Regions from separate parts of the Homo sapiens genome. Here all the other regions are linked to region 4. The links are contacts of gene promoters, found by promoter capture Hi-C in human tissues and cell types (Jung and others, 2019). All regions are on one chromosome and are shown on one strand. Each heading gives the region's core, a stretch centred on a gene start or on the middle of the fragment in contact. The rest is flanking DNA. Distances are from core to core; before and after follow the strand shown.

Region 1 (2,700 bases), core at 107-2,606, 890 kb before region 4:
ACGGAGGCCCAGCCAATTAGCCACTTCCCTGCACTTTTGAAAGGGGATCCAGCCGGGAAGAGTCACAGGATCCCAGGAGGCAGGCCCTGAAAGGCAGGGGCAGCTGGGTGCCCGGCAGGGCTATTTGGGGCTCAGTAGCGGCAGCTTGGGTTCTCTCTCTCCCCAGGCCCCAGACTCATGCCCCCTCCAGGAGCAAGAGGAAGTGGTGTGATTCTTGAAGGGTGTCATCAGTTGTCACAGGGACAAGACCCCACCTCTGCCCTGCTCCTCTAACCTCTGTTCCTGGCATGAGCAAACTGCTCACAAGTGGCCAGAGGCCAGCGAGAAGGGGAAAAGGGCGCCAGACCACGTGCCCAGGAAGGCATCAGAGTGCGGGCTTGGGGTGGGGTGGAGGCAGGACAGGCCAGCCCAGGAAGGTCACTCTGTGAGGTTACGTGCCCCACCAGGTGGGACGCCAGCCCCGGAGCTGTTCCCTCAGCCCCATTCCCGAACACTTAAGAACCACACTGTGCAAAGTTTGGAGAGTCCGGGATCATAACCTCCACTTTGCCACCAGCTCCGAGTGACCTTGGGGAAGCCAGCTGTGGCACTCGGCCTCAGTTTCCCTCCTGCACAGGGAAGGAAGTTGGTAGGTCCTGCACAATCTCTGGGGTGCCCTGTGACCCATTCCAATGGGGTAAGGAAGGCCGCCTTCCTCACGCTGCCCCCTGCGTGGACACTTGGACCTGGTCTGGAGTGAATTGTTCTGTGGGGCTGGGAACACGCGCGGGGGCGGGGGGGGCTGTCAATGGGGAGGAGGGGTCCGTTCCAGGGCAGATGGGGCCTCAACTTCCCCAGGTCTCTCGGGTGGAAGGGGCTGCTCGCTCGTTGGGGGCCGCCCAGCCGGGAAGCTCCACGTGAGGCCGCCCTCTCCCTCGCGCCCCCTCGTGCTTACACTTACATTTCGCCTCCTTCCAGTCGGTGGAGGTGCTCAGGTCCACCTTCGCCGCCATGGCCAGGGGGGCCCAAGTGCGCACCCCGGCTGTCCGCCCCACCGCCGCCGCCCCCCACGCCCCAACTCCCGCCGAGGTCCGCGCACGGCGGCCGAACACGCCCAGGAACGCCGGGGGACCGCACGTGCTGCTGCGGGTCCTCGTGGCACCCGCCAAGTGTCCGGGCCGGGGGCGCGGGGGGACGAGCAGCTGCCCCGCCGCGCGCAGCTGTGCCAGGCGGCCGGACAGTCGGCTCTGTAGAGACATGAGCGGGCGGCGCGGGACGGCTCTCCGCCCACTTGGACTCTATTTACGGCGCTCGGGAGTGTCTCTCCCTTATTTACTCTGGGACCGGGTGGCGACTGCCAGCCAGCGGCGACCTGCTCGGAGCCAGCGGGAGGCGCGGCCAGAAAACCCGGGAGCGCCGCTGGGCACCCTGGAACTTGTAGTCCGGGCCGCCGGATGGGCCCACGCACTCGTATACACACGTGCGCGCCCGCCCGGGCTCCCAGTGTCGCGGATGGAGCCCCGCCTGAGCCCTTCGACTTCTCCCGTGGCCGCCAGGCGCCTCCCCTCCGCGAGACCTCGGCCGCCTCTAACTTTCTGGTTGGCTGAGCGTCGGCTTCCCCGGCACGGGCTGAAGCCCCCGGGCCTTCCACGCAGCCCCGGGCCCCTCTGCCGCTCGGCCCCGCGGCGGAGCAGGCGCGCCGGCCGCTGCGTATCGAGCTGGGAGAGCCTGGCGCGGCTTCCGCAGTGCCGAGCGTTTTGCAGCCTGGGAGACCCGGGCTTCTCTCCCCGCGGGTCAGCAGGGCACCGCCTCCACACCCCAGCCTGCCCTCCTAGGGACAGGTGCGACGAACGGGTAAATCCGGTTTGGGGACTTCTCCCCAGAGCCTCTGCCTTCTAACAGCCCCGGGGCCAAGGCTCAGCTGGAGCAGAATCTAGGACAGCTGGGGAGGAGAGTCGAGGGTGGAAATAGTGGAATTTGGAGGCAGGAAACTTAGGCTTCAAGTGGCGTTCAAGGGTGGAAGGATTGGGGTGATGTTTTTGTGTGTGTCTGTGTGTTTTTTTTTTTTTTTCTTTTCTTTTTTAAACAAAAACCGGCCGGGCGCGGTGGCTCACGCCTGTAATCCCAGCACTTTGGTAGGCCGAGTTGGGTGGATCACGAGGTCAGGAGTTCGAGGCCTGCCTGGCCAACATGGCGAAACCCCGTCTCTACTAAAAATACAAAAATTATGCAGGCGTGGTGGTGCATGCCTGTTAATTACAGCTACTCGGGAGGCTGAGGCAGGAGAATCACTTGAACCCGGAAGGCGGAGGTTGCGGTGAGCCGAGATCGTGCCATTGCACTCCAGCCTGGGTGACAGAACGAGACTCTGTCTCAAAGAAAACAAAACAAAAAACACGAGGATGGATTTTTAAGTACTTTTATATATTTTTATGTACTATTAATATTACTTTATGATAAATATAATGAATACAGGCCGGGCCATTATAATAATATAATGAATGTAATAATGAATAATGAATAAGTGCTCACACCTGTAATCCCAGCACTTTGGGAGGCTGAGGCAAGAGGATTATTAGAGGCCAGGAGTTCAAGACCAGCCTGGGCAATATAGTGAGACCCCCTCATCTCTACCCGCCCCCACACAAAAAAATTACCCTGGTATGGTGGTAGACACTCACCTCTAGTCCCAGCTACTCCAGAGGCTGAGGCAGGCAAACA
Region 2 (2,700 bases), core at 125-2,624, 620 kb before region 4:
TCACTGCAACCTCTTCCTCCTGAGTTCAAGCGCTTCTCTTGGCTCAGCCTCCTGAGTAGCTGGGATTACAGGCACCCGCCACCACATCCGGCTAATTTTTGTATTTTTAGTAGAGACAGGGTTTCACCATGTTGGCCAGGCTGATCTCGAACTCCTGACCTCAGGTGATCCACCCACCTCGGCCTCCCAAAGTGCTGGGATTACAGGTGTGAGCCACCGCGCCTGGCCTCTATTCTTGTTTTCCATGTCCATTTATATTCGCACAGAGAGACACTCCTCCGTCACACACATGCACATATACACATGAACACATGCATGCACACACATGCAGAACACACATGAACATACATACATATTTTTCTTTGAGAATAATGTCAAACTATAAATACAGTTTTATAACTTGCTCTTTTTCACCTAACAACACATTGCCAATTAACTCAGCAATTAGCTTTGCTGGCAGCAAAGAGAAACAGGTTTTCTGCACAGATGATGTGGGAAGCATCACTGAGAGCCTACCACATGGCTCTGGGCCAGGAAGCGGGCAGCGGAGGGGGCACCTTTCAGATCCACCATCCTCTCCTCGGTGCAGGTGCAGGAAACTCCAACTTCGGGCAGGTGTGTCCACCTCTTACAAAGCTCTCTGTCTGGCTTCCAAAAGCTCTGGACTTAGCTTATAAGAAAAATGAGTCATCTGACAACATGGTTGTGAACTAGGACAGAGGTACTCAGGGATGCAGGGCTGTTCTCTCCAGACTTGCACCATCTTCCCCCCTCAGTGGGTTCTAGAAGTGGACCAAGAGACCCCAAGCTGGTGCAGAGTGAGTGTCCCCGGCTCTCCCCTGTTTGCCTGGGGGTGGCCAGGCTGGGACTGCATCAGGCAATGGCTGTGGCTATTGTCAGGCAGGCAGGCTGCCCACCACACAGGCATGAAAAAGGCCCTGGAGGGGGTTCCTGGGGCCTTCTATGGGATGCTGGCTTTTGCTATTCCGGTTATCCCTGAGGTCTCCTTGGCTGTCAGCCTCATGGTTCATTGTCTCCAAGCCAGGAATCGGCCACTGCCCACTGCCCTGAGTGGGGTCGCTCTTTGGGCTCAGTGTTAGGGTAGTTGCTGGAAACTGCAAGAGGCTGTCTGGGCAGGAATGTTGCGAAGGGAATGCAAGGAAGATGAGAGGGCCGGGTTGCGACCCTCACTGCTGCCTCTCCTGACACCCTCTCCTCCCTCCCCCTGCCCTTGCTAAAATAGTTTGGGGGGAATTGACTCAGCCTCCAGGGATGGGCCCTGATGGGTCTAAACAATCCATGTGATCCTGTCCTCTGTCCCATGGGGTTTCTGTGCCAGAGCTGTGTGGGCATCTAGTGTGTGCCTCTCCTCCCAACTGTGTAGTCAGGTTAGTGGCTTGAAATCAGCCATGGGGTGGCCGTGCGCGGTGGCTCACACCCATAATCCCAGCATGCTGGGAGGCTAAGGCTGGCAGATCACCTGAGGTCAGGAGTTTGAGACCAGCCTGGCCAACATGGTGAAACTCTGTCTCTACTGAAAATACAAAAATTAGCCGGATGTGGTGGCAGGTGCCTGTAATCCCAGCTACTTGGGAGGCTGAGACAGGAGAATCACTGGAAATGGGGAGGGGAGGTTGCAGTGAGCTGAGATTGTGCCACTGCATTCTAGCCTGGGCAACAGAGCAATACCCAGTCAAAAAAAAAAAATCAACCATGGGGAGTGTTTATACCACAGAAAATGGCACATGCTATAAATTAGAGCTTTTCCTCACACCCGTCCCCACCCCAGAGAGCTGGCTTACCTACACACCACTGACCCTCTCCCACTAATTGTGATAAAGGAGCCAGGCAGCCAGCTGCTGCTGGTGGCCACCGCACAACCACAGAGGGCTGACGGCAGGAGGACAGTGCAGAGAGACAGAAAGAGCATGGCTGCGGATGACATGCCTGATCATGCCTCACCTCTGGACTTTTTGGTTACATTTTTTCCGCATTCTTGAGAGCATCCTAAATGCTGCACCCTGGCCCTGGGGTGATTGACAGAAGGCAACACAAATGCCAGGTGAGGACCTTCAGCCCCCGGCCACTGTGGAGCAAGCAGAGCTGTTTTTGTCAAAGAGCAAAATTCTCTAGCCTGTGAGTGTTGCCGGGTGGACCTTCCCCTTCCTCCTGCCTCCCGAGGGGATGCTGCCCCAAAAGGGTCCATTTCTCAGTCTCCCCTGCCCTTAGAGATGAGCCCTGTTTTTGCCCTTTTGTGATATAAAGTTAGAAGGATGGGAAAGAGAAGAGAGGAAAGAGAGGAGAGAGGAGACAGCGAGAGGCGGGAGGCCAGGGACACCCACAGGCTATGAAGGGGCAATTTCTCAACATGGGAGTTCCTTTGTGGTTTTCTTTTTTTCTTTTTTCTTTCTTTCTTTTTTTTTTTCTTTGAGACGGAGCCTCGCTCTCTTGCCCAGGCTGGAGTGCAGTGGTGCGATCTCGGCTCACTGCAACCTCTGCCTCCTGGGTTCAAGCAATTCTCCTGCCTCACTCTCCCGAGTAGCTGGGATTACAGGTGCCCGCCACCACACCCGGCTAATTTTTGTATTTTTAGTAGAGATGGGGTTCACCATGTTGGCCAGGCTGGTCTAGAACTCCTGGCCTCAAGTGATCTGCCTGCCTGGGCCTCCCAAAGTGCTGGGATTACAGTCATGAGCCACC
Region 3 (2,700 bases), core at 141-2,640, 700 kb after region 4:
ACATTTAGGTTGCTCCGGAGTCTTAGCTATTGTGAATACTGCTGTAATAAACATGGAAGTGCAGACATCTCTTTGAAATACTGATTTCCTTTTCTGCGGGTATATATCTAGAAGTGGGATTGCTGGATCATATGGTAGCTCTGTTTTTAGTTTTTTGAGGGACCTCCACAATGTTTTCCACAGTGGTTGCACTAATTTACCTTCCCACCAACAGTGTACAAGGGTTGCCTTTTCTCCACATCCTCGCCAGCATGTGTTATTACCTGTCTTTTGAATAAAAGCCATTTTAACTGGGGTAAGGTAATATCTCATTGTAGTTTTGATTTGCTTTTCTCTGATGATCAACTATGTAGAGCACCTTTTCATATGCCTGTTTGCCATTTGTTTGTCTTTTTTTGAGAAATATCTATTCAGATCTCTGGCCCACTTTTAATCAGATTATTAGATTTCTTTTCTAGAGAGTGGTTTGAACTCCTTATGTATTCTGTCAGATGGTGTGATGGTTAATATCGAGTGTCAGCTTGATTGAAGGATACAAAATATTGATCCTGGGTGTGTCTCTGAGGGTGCTGCCAAAAGAGATTAACATTTGAGTCAGTGGGCTGGGGAAAGCAGATCCACCCTTAATCTGGTGGGCACAATCTAATCAGCTGCCATTGAATATAAAGCAGGCAGAAAAACGTGAAAAGGAGAGACAGCCTTCGCCTCCCAGCCTTCATCTTTTTCCTGTGCTGGATGCTTCTTGCCCTCGCACATCGGACTCCAAGTTCTTCAGTTCTGGGACTCAGACTGGCTCTCCTTGCTTCTCAGCTTGCAGAAAGCCTATTGTGGGACCTTGTGATCATGTAATAAACTCCCCTTTATATATAGAGAGAGAAAGAACACTGACTAATACAGATGGGAAGTTTGCAAATATTTTCTCCCATTCTATGGGTTGTCCCTTCACTTTGTTGATTGTTTCTTTTGTTGTGCAGTAGCTGTTTAACTTGACGTAATTCCATTTATACATTTTTGCTTTGGTTGCCTATACCTGTGGGGTATTGCTCAAGAAGTATTTGCCCACTTTGATGTCCTGGAGAGTTTCCCCAGTGTTTTCTTTTGGTAGTTTCATAATTTTCAGTCTTAAATGTTTTTAATTCATTTTGATTTGATTTTTTTGGCAAGAGATAGGGGTCTAGTTTCATTCTTATGCATATGGATATCCAGTTTTCCCAGCACCACTTATTGAAGAGACTGTCCTTTCCTCAATATATATTCTTGGAAACTTTGTCAAAAACGAGTTCACTGTAGATGTATGAATTTATTTCTAGGTTTTTGATTCTGTTCCACTGGTTTATGTATCTGTTTTTATGCCAGTGCCATGCCGTTTGGTTACTATAGCTCTGTAGTATAATTTGAAGTCAGATAATGTGATTCCTCTAGTTCTGTCCTTTTTGCTTAGGATAGCTTTGGCTATTCTGGGTCTTTTGTGATTCCATACATATTTTAGGATTTTTAGGATTTTTTTCTATTTCTGTGAAGAATGTCATTGGTATTTTGACAGGAATTGCATTAAATCTATTGGACATTTTAACAATGTTGATTCTTCCTATCCATGAACATGAAATATCTTTCCATTTTTTGTGTCCTCTTCAATTTCTTTTCTTTTCTTTTTTGAAATAGGGTCTCACTCTGTCACCCAGGCCAGAGTGCAGTGGTGTGATCATGGCTTGCCAAAGCCTTAATTTCTCAGGCTCAAGTGATCCTCCTGCCTCAGCCTCCTGAGTAGTTGGGCCTGCAGGTGCGAACCACCATGCCCAGCTAGTTTTTCTTTTTTGTGTTTTTTGTAGAGTTGAAGTTTCACCACGTTGCCCAGGCTGGTCTCGAACTCCTGGACTCAAGAGATCCACCTACCTTGGCCCCCCAAAGTGCTGGGATTACAGGCTTCAGCCACCATTCCCAGCCTCACTTCAGTTTCTTGCATGAATGTTTTATAGTTTTCATTGTAGAGATCTTTCATTTCTTTGGTTAATTCCTAAGTATTTTATTTTATTTGCAGCTATCCAGCCTGTGTTTTTAATTTCAGATTCCACTTGTTCATTGATGGTATATAGGAAAGCAATTGATAATTTTATATTAATCTTGCATGCTGCAATGTTGCTATAACTGCTCATTAGTCCCAAGGGTTTGTTGTTGCTGATTTTTCCAGATTTTCTACATAGACAATCATGCCATCTTTACCACCTTTCTTCCTTCCCAATCTGTATACTTCTATTTCTTTTTCTTGTCTTAGCATTAGCTAGGACTTCCAGCGTAATATTGAAAGGAGTGGGGAGAGAGGACTTTCTTTCCTTTTTTCTGATCTTAGCAGGAAAGCTTCTAGTTTCTCACTGTTAAGTAAAATATTAGCTATACGGTTTTTGTACCTTTTAAAAATCAAGTTAAGGAAGTTCCCCTTTATTCCTAGTTTACTGAGAGTTTTTTTAAATCACAAATGGGTGCTGAATTTTTTCAAATGCTTTTTCTGCGTGTATTGAATTATCATTTGATATTTCTCTTTTAGACGTGATGGATTACATTAACTGATTGCATACCTGGGATAAATCCCCATTTGGTCATGGCATATAATTATCTTTATGTATCATTGGATTTGATTTGCTAATATTTTGTTGAGGATTCCTGTACCTATGGTTATGAGAGATATGGATCTGTAGAGTTGTT
Region 4 (2,700 bases), core at 179-2,678:
ACCAAACCTGAAAATTGTACTCAACCCCTTTATTTCCTACAGCTCAGAGAGGGTCAGGGAGGCATCCGAGGCCACACAGCCCATTGGTGGGACAACCCGAAAACACCTTGCCTTTCCTGCCCCACCCTGGGGCTTGGTTCCCCACTCAACACTGCCTCTTCTCCTTCCCCTTCCCCTCACTTCCTCCAGTCCACTGCCCAGCCCCTTCCTCACCGAGGCCTCCTGCACTGGGGGACTGCCACTCACCTTGGCCCCACGCCCTACACCCCCATATCGAGTCAGGGCAATGGTGCCTTCAAGTTTGATGCCCTGAGTCTGTAGCTCCTTAAAGTCTTCTTCCGCGCCCCGGTTGGCATAGACGAGGAGGCCCTAGTCCCAAGAGGGGGTGATCCTTAGAGCTGGGCCCAGCGAAGTGTGGGTGGGGAAGGGGGGTGGAAGTTTGCATGGCAGGAGGGAGAATTTAGATTCTGTTCCCCCACCTCACCCAGAGCTTGTAAGCTCCCCAAGAACAGTCACCCCTCATTTCCTCCATGTCTGGGTGCCCTGTAACAGACCTGGCCTTGAGCAGAGCCACTAGTGTTTGTTGAATGACTGATGGAGGAAAGGAGCAGCGATGGAGTGTCCCGGTGAGTAAATTCCGGAGGGCGCGCTGTGCCCCAGTTGAGGCACGTTCCCTGGGTCAGGGTGGGGAGAACCCTGGGTGGAACCAAGGGAGCTGGGCCAGAGCAGTAGGGGGGGTTCTGGGCCCACCTGTGGGGTTCCAGAAGGAGCATAGGCAGCATAGGGTTGTACCACATCTGGCCCCCCTTGCTCCCCGGTCACGTTCTCCTCAGTCCGGTGGCAGGAGTGGATGATGCCCCCAGTGGGGCCCACTGTTGGAGGGGTGGCAGTATCATGGCTGGGCCCAGCAGCTCCCCACCCCCGGGCATTCCCAAGACTGGGCAGGACCTCACCGATGTCCACGACGTTGGGCTGCTCCTGGCTAGGGAAGGACAGCAGCACTTCGTACGTGGAGGCCTCGGCCGAGTCCAGGCCTGACTCTGGGTCCTTCCAGCGCTGCAGCAGCAGCTGCACCAGGTCCTCATCCCGAGGGCTGGAGGCCAGGTGTGGCTCCCTGGAGAGTTCTCTGCAGGGTGGGCAGAGGGAGGGGCAGGGCCAGCATCAGGGAGGGGGCCTCTGGCAAACGGAGGAGCAGATGGCCCCACTTCTCACCTGAGGTTCTCCCGGATCCTGTGGGCATCCAGCTGCCCCATGACGGTCTCCAGGATCTCCAGGTCCAGGTCCTGGGGGGCCAGTGAGTTGGCTTTTTTGGGGATGGCAAAGTGGCCGAGGATGATCCCCAGCCCCAAGAGGGCAGCAGCCCCCAGCCCCAGCCCCAACACCTTCGTCCACTGCATCCTGCGGACTCTTGGCCAGCTGGGGTAGGACTGGTCTATAGGTTATTCCCTATAGAGGGGGTGTTGTGCCTGGTTAAACATTACCCCATGGGTGGCACTGCCCTTTGACCCCCAGCTGGCAGGGAGAGTGAGGGAACATCCCGCAGTGAGAGCCAGGAGCCATCCACATCCACCACATCCTGCACCATTTGCCTGGAATGGCTCTCCAAGGGCAGCAAGGTCACCCAGGGACACTGAAGCCGAGAGGGAAGGGGCTCATCCAGGGTGTCCCAGGAAAACAGAGGCCAAGCCAGGGCTGGAACTCAGAGCTCCTGTGTTCACAGCAGGGCCGTGCCCACTGCCCACCCTCACTGCCTCTGCCTCCCTCCAAGGCAGCCGATCTACAGCATACCCAGCCCTACCTGCCTGAGCAGATTTTGAGTTGAGATCCCCCTTCTTGCTGGACGTAAGCTGTGTGACCTTGGGCAATCCACTCAGCTTCTCTACACCTGTTTTCTTTTTTTTTTTTCTAGACTGTGTCTTCCACTGACACCCAGGCTGGAGTCCAGTGGTGTGATCTCGGCTCACTGCAACCTCCACCTCCCGGGCTCAAGTGATTCTCCTGCATCGGCCTCCCGAGTAGCTGGGATTACGGGTGTGCACCACCATGTCCAGCTAATTTTTGTATTTTTAGTAGAGATGGGGTTTCACCATGTTGGCCAGGCTGGTCTCAAACTCCTGATCTCAGGTGATCACCCGCCTCAGCCTCCCAAAGTGCTGGGATGACAGGAGTGAGCCACCGTGCCGGCTATGGTGTCATTTTCATTAAACAATATGGCATCTGTAGAAATAGCTAGTGCAGTGTCTGACATGTAGTGGGAGCTCATCAATTTTAACTACTCATCCCTCATCTGACTCTGGAAAATGTAAGGCCTAGAGCTAAAGGAAGAAGGAGGACCCAGAAGAACTCTCTGTGTCTATCCTGAAGGGAGCCCAGCGATACGAGGAATGGGAGTCCTGGGAAGGGAGGCTGTCCCAGAGGAGGCAGCAGGGGAAGCCCATGCCTCCCTGGCGAGGTGACTTCCTCTTCTATCCCCTGGCTCTGCCTGGACTCCGTCATCCACCCTCCTATTTATCCATCCACCCATCCCTCCATTCACTTATTCATTCCTTCCTTTATACATGCAAGCACTGTTCATTCTGTGCTATACTAGAGCCATGCAAGGCTGTGGGGAAGCAAAATCCAGCAGGCGAGGCAGACAGGCTTTAGGTTCAGCCATGTGGTAAGTGCCCTGTAGAGGGAGGATCACCATGCTCCCAGTGA
Region 5 (2,700 bases), core at 62-2,561, 780 kb after region 4:
GTTCCCAGCTTCTCTCCACTAGTTCCCAGCTTCTCTCCACTCCATCTCAGCTTCTCTCTACTTGATCTCAAATTCTCTCCACTTGATCTCAGCTTTCTGCCACTGGACCTCAGCTTCACTCCACTGGACCCCTGCTTCTCTCCCCTGCACACCAGCTTCTCACTAGTAGACCTCAGCTTCTCTACACTTGATCTCATCTTGTCTACACTAGACCTCAACCCCTTCTCATCCTGTCCCAGTTTATATCCATTGGATCTCAAGTCCTCTCCACTGGTCCCTACCTTCTCCCCAGCAGACCTCAACCTCTCTTCAAACCCAGACCCCTTCATAGGCCCTGCTGTCATCCCTGCACTCTTAGATTTAGCCTTTATTTCGTGTTTGACCTCTTGCTTTCCCCAAATACCCCTTGGGCTGTCTTTCCCCAAATCTGCTGAAGCTTGTGATGCACTTGCTCCACGGTATAGCAGCTTCACATCCATCCTTTCCTGACTCGGGCCTGACTTCCCTTTCAAGACCGTCTTTTCCACATCTTCCAGTCTCCAGTACTCAGACTCCAGCTTCGGCTTTCGAGTGTTTCTAGTCAGGAGCTCCACTCTCTTCCCAATTACCATGAGCCCGTTCCAAGGTCCCCAGGTTTTCTCTCGCAGCATCGGCACCCCCTTGCAGCCCCGCTCCAGTGGCGACCGTTCGCGGACCCCGGCCTCGCTTGGGGCGCCCTGGCCGCGGGACTTGTGGAGCTCCCTAGTCCTCCTAGGCTGCTTACCCCGCCGCTCCCTCCCGTCCAAGAGCGGAAACCTAAACAGACCCCCCTTCTCCACAGACATTGTCCCCTGCCCTCGCCCCTGGTCCACCACCCACATCCCCACCACTGCTTCCCATTCCCTGTCCCCACCCTGCCACCCTCACCCTCTTCCCCTTCCCCTTCCCCTTCCCCACTGCCTGGTGGGCGCCAAACTGGGCGAGTGCGCACGCGCAGGCCGCACGTGGCCGTTGGAAGGAGGGGCCCGGAACGGCGGCACGGGGTTGTTGTGGGGGTCAGTCCCCCGGGGACTGGAGGGAGACGCGGCACGCGGCCTCTGCGACCCTATGAACTCTGACCCCAGCTCCCACACTGTCGCCTATCACCGGCCCACTCTCCGTGCCGCGTGTCCCTTAAAAGCTGGGGCCTGGGACAGGAACGACAGACAATGCAGCCAATGGCGTCACGCGCGGTGCCCCGCTACCCAATCGAAAGGCGTGGCTGAGGGAAACGCGGTGGGAACCGCCCCCGACTCCAGGCGACTCCTTGGCCGGGCGGGGGAGAGCGTCCCCGTCAGCTGAGAGCATCCTCACTCGGTCAGTTCCTCGGGCGAGTTACGGGGACGACCTGCGGGAGCACGCGGGCAGTGGCCGGACGCTGAAGCCCAGGAGAGCGATGGAGACGTATGCGGAGGTTGGGAAGGAGGGCAAGGTAGAGAAAGGATGAAGACCCCCACCCCAGCCTCCCCTCACTCCATGAAAGCCCGTGATGCCCAATCATGCGGTGGTGTGTGTGTGTCTGTGTGTGTGTGGTCTGCCTCTGTGTGTTTCTGTGTGTGTCTGTGTGTGTATAGTCTGCATGTGTCTGTTTCTCTGTGTGTCTGTGTGTATGTCGATGTGCCTGCATATGTCTGTGTGTGTGTGTATCTGTGTATGTCTGTATTTGTGTCTCTGTGTGTCTGTGTGTCTGTGTGTGTCTCAGTGTGTGTCTGTGTCTTTGTGTGTCTCTGTGTATCTGTGTGTGTGTCTGTGTGTCTCCGTGTCTCTGTGTGTGTGTGTATGGCCTGTGTGTGTCTGTGTGTGTGCACGTATGCGTCCATGTGGGTGTTTGTGCGTGCATGTCTGTGTCTGTCTCTGTGTGTGTCTGTGCATGTCTGTGTGTGTGTGTCTGTGTGTCTGTGTCTGTGTATGGTCTGCGTGTGTCTTTGTGTCTGTGTCTGTCTGTGTGTATGGTCTGCATGTGTGCATGTATGCATCTGTGTGTGTCTCTGTGTGTATCTGTGTGTGCACGCATGTGCCTGTGTGTGTCTGCGCAGGTCTGTGTCTCTTTGTGTCTGAGTGTGTGTCTGTCTCTGTGTCTATGTATGGTCTGCGTGCATCTTTATGTCTGTGTGTGTGTGTCTCTGTGTGTGTGTATGGTCTGCGTGTGTCTGTGTGTGTGTGTCTGTGTATTTCTGGGTCTGTGTGTGTGTTTGCATGTGTCTGTGTGTGTCTGTATCCGTGTGTCTTTGTATATCTGTGTGTGTCTATGTCAGTGTGTCTGTGTGTGCATCTGTGTGTGTCTGTGTGCCTGTGTATGATCTGTGTATGTCGTTGTGTGTGTCTGTGTGTGTGTTTCTCTGTGCCTGTGTGTTTGTGTGTGTCTGTGTATCTGTGTGTGTTTCTATGTGTGTCTGTGTGTGCGTGTGTCTGTGTTTGTCTCGTGTGTCTGTGTGTGTGTATGTGCCCATGTGTCTCTGTGTGTATGTGTGTGTCTGCGCAAGTGAGAGAAAGGAGACTTGAGCAAGGGAGTGGGGAGCCTCTGTGGCACCTGTGTGCGGACTGATGAGGATGCCAAGGGAGGCAGGGTTTTGCCTTTGTCCTTACAGATGGAAAGGGACCCGTCACTGTCACTCTTACCCTCCCCAAGACCAACTCAGGCTGTCTTGATGGGGGTAGGTGGGTAGGGGGTGGGAGGTGAGG

Evidence for each region. Contacts are between HindIII fragments. The study calls those that stand out against the background at their distance.
Region 1: the fragment with the promoter of MACROD1 here is called in contact with the fragment with the promoter of NAALADL1 in region 4 in 2 of the 25 tissues and cell types used here (bladder and heart left ventricle).
Region 2: a contact is called between a fragment that was not itself captured here and the fragment with the promoter of NAALADL1 in region 4, in 1 of the 25 tissues and cell types used here (H1 embryonic stem cells).
Region 3: a fragment that was not itself captured here is called in contact with the fragment with the promoter of NAALADL1 in region 4 in 1 of the 25 tissues and cell types used here (spleen).
Region 5: a contact is called between the fragment with the promoter of SNX32 here and the fragment with the promoter of NAALADL1 in region 4, in 4 of the 25 tissues and cell types used here (adrenal gland, heart left ventricle, heart right ventricle and 1 more).

Annotation. Positions count from the first base shown.
Region 1 is chr11:64,164,757-64,167,456 of GRCh38, forward strand. MACROD1 (mono-ADP ribosylhydrolase 1) reads right to left here and starts at 1,357. Exons shown (of 11, transcript NM_014067.4): 1 at 941-1,357. The coding sequence starts at 1,238. LOC105369339 (a long non-coding RNA gene) reads left to right here and starts at 1,482. Exons shown (of 3, transcript XR_950187.3): 1 at 1,482-1,833. RefSeq lists an enhancer at 876-1,376 and silencers at 914-1,013, 1,144-1,223, 1,484-1,743. The HindIII fragment of the contact is 20,905 bases long and covers 1-2,700 here.
Region 2 is chr11:64,435,613-64,438,312 of GRCh38, forward strand. No RefSeq gene overlaps it. Among named protein-coding and RNA genes, the nearest start is that of LINC02724, 12 kb to the right of the region's middle. The HindIII fragment of the contact is 5,095 bases long and covers 1-2,700 here.
Region 3 is chr11:65,752,786-65,755,485 of GRCh38, forward strand. No RefSeq gene overlaps it. Among named protein-coding and RNA genes, the nearest start is that of AP5B1, 27 kb to the right of the region's middle. The HindIII fragment of the contact is 8,105 bases long and covers 1-2,700 here.
Region 4 is chr11:65,057,125-65,059,824 of GRCh38, forward strand. NAALADL1 (N-acetylated alpha-linked acidic dipeptidase like 1) reads right to left here and starts at 1,429. Exons shown (of 18, transcript NM_005468.3): 1 at 1,213-1,429; 2 at 954-1,126; 3 at 751-872; 4 at 247-369. The coding sequence starts at 1,397. The HindIII fragment of the contact is 22,908 bases long and covers 1-2,700 here.
Region 5 is chr11:65,832,652-65,835,351 of GRCh38, forward strand. It overlaps SNX32 (sorting nexin 32), which reads left to right and starts at 1,312. Exons shown (of 13, transcript NM_152760.3): 1 at 1,312-1,450. The coding sequence starts at 1,415. LOC124902693 reads right to left here and starts at 1,148. Exons shown (of 7, transcript XM_047427980.1): 1 at 1-1,148. The coding sequence starts at 860. RefSeq lists silencers at 864-993, 1,167-1,379 and an enhancer at 1,304-1,393. The HindIII fragment of the contact is 13,089 bases long and covers 1-2,700 here.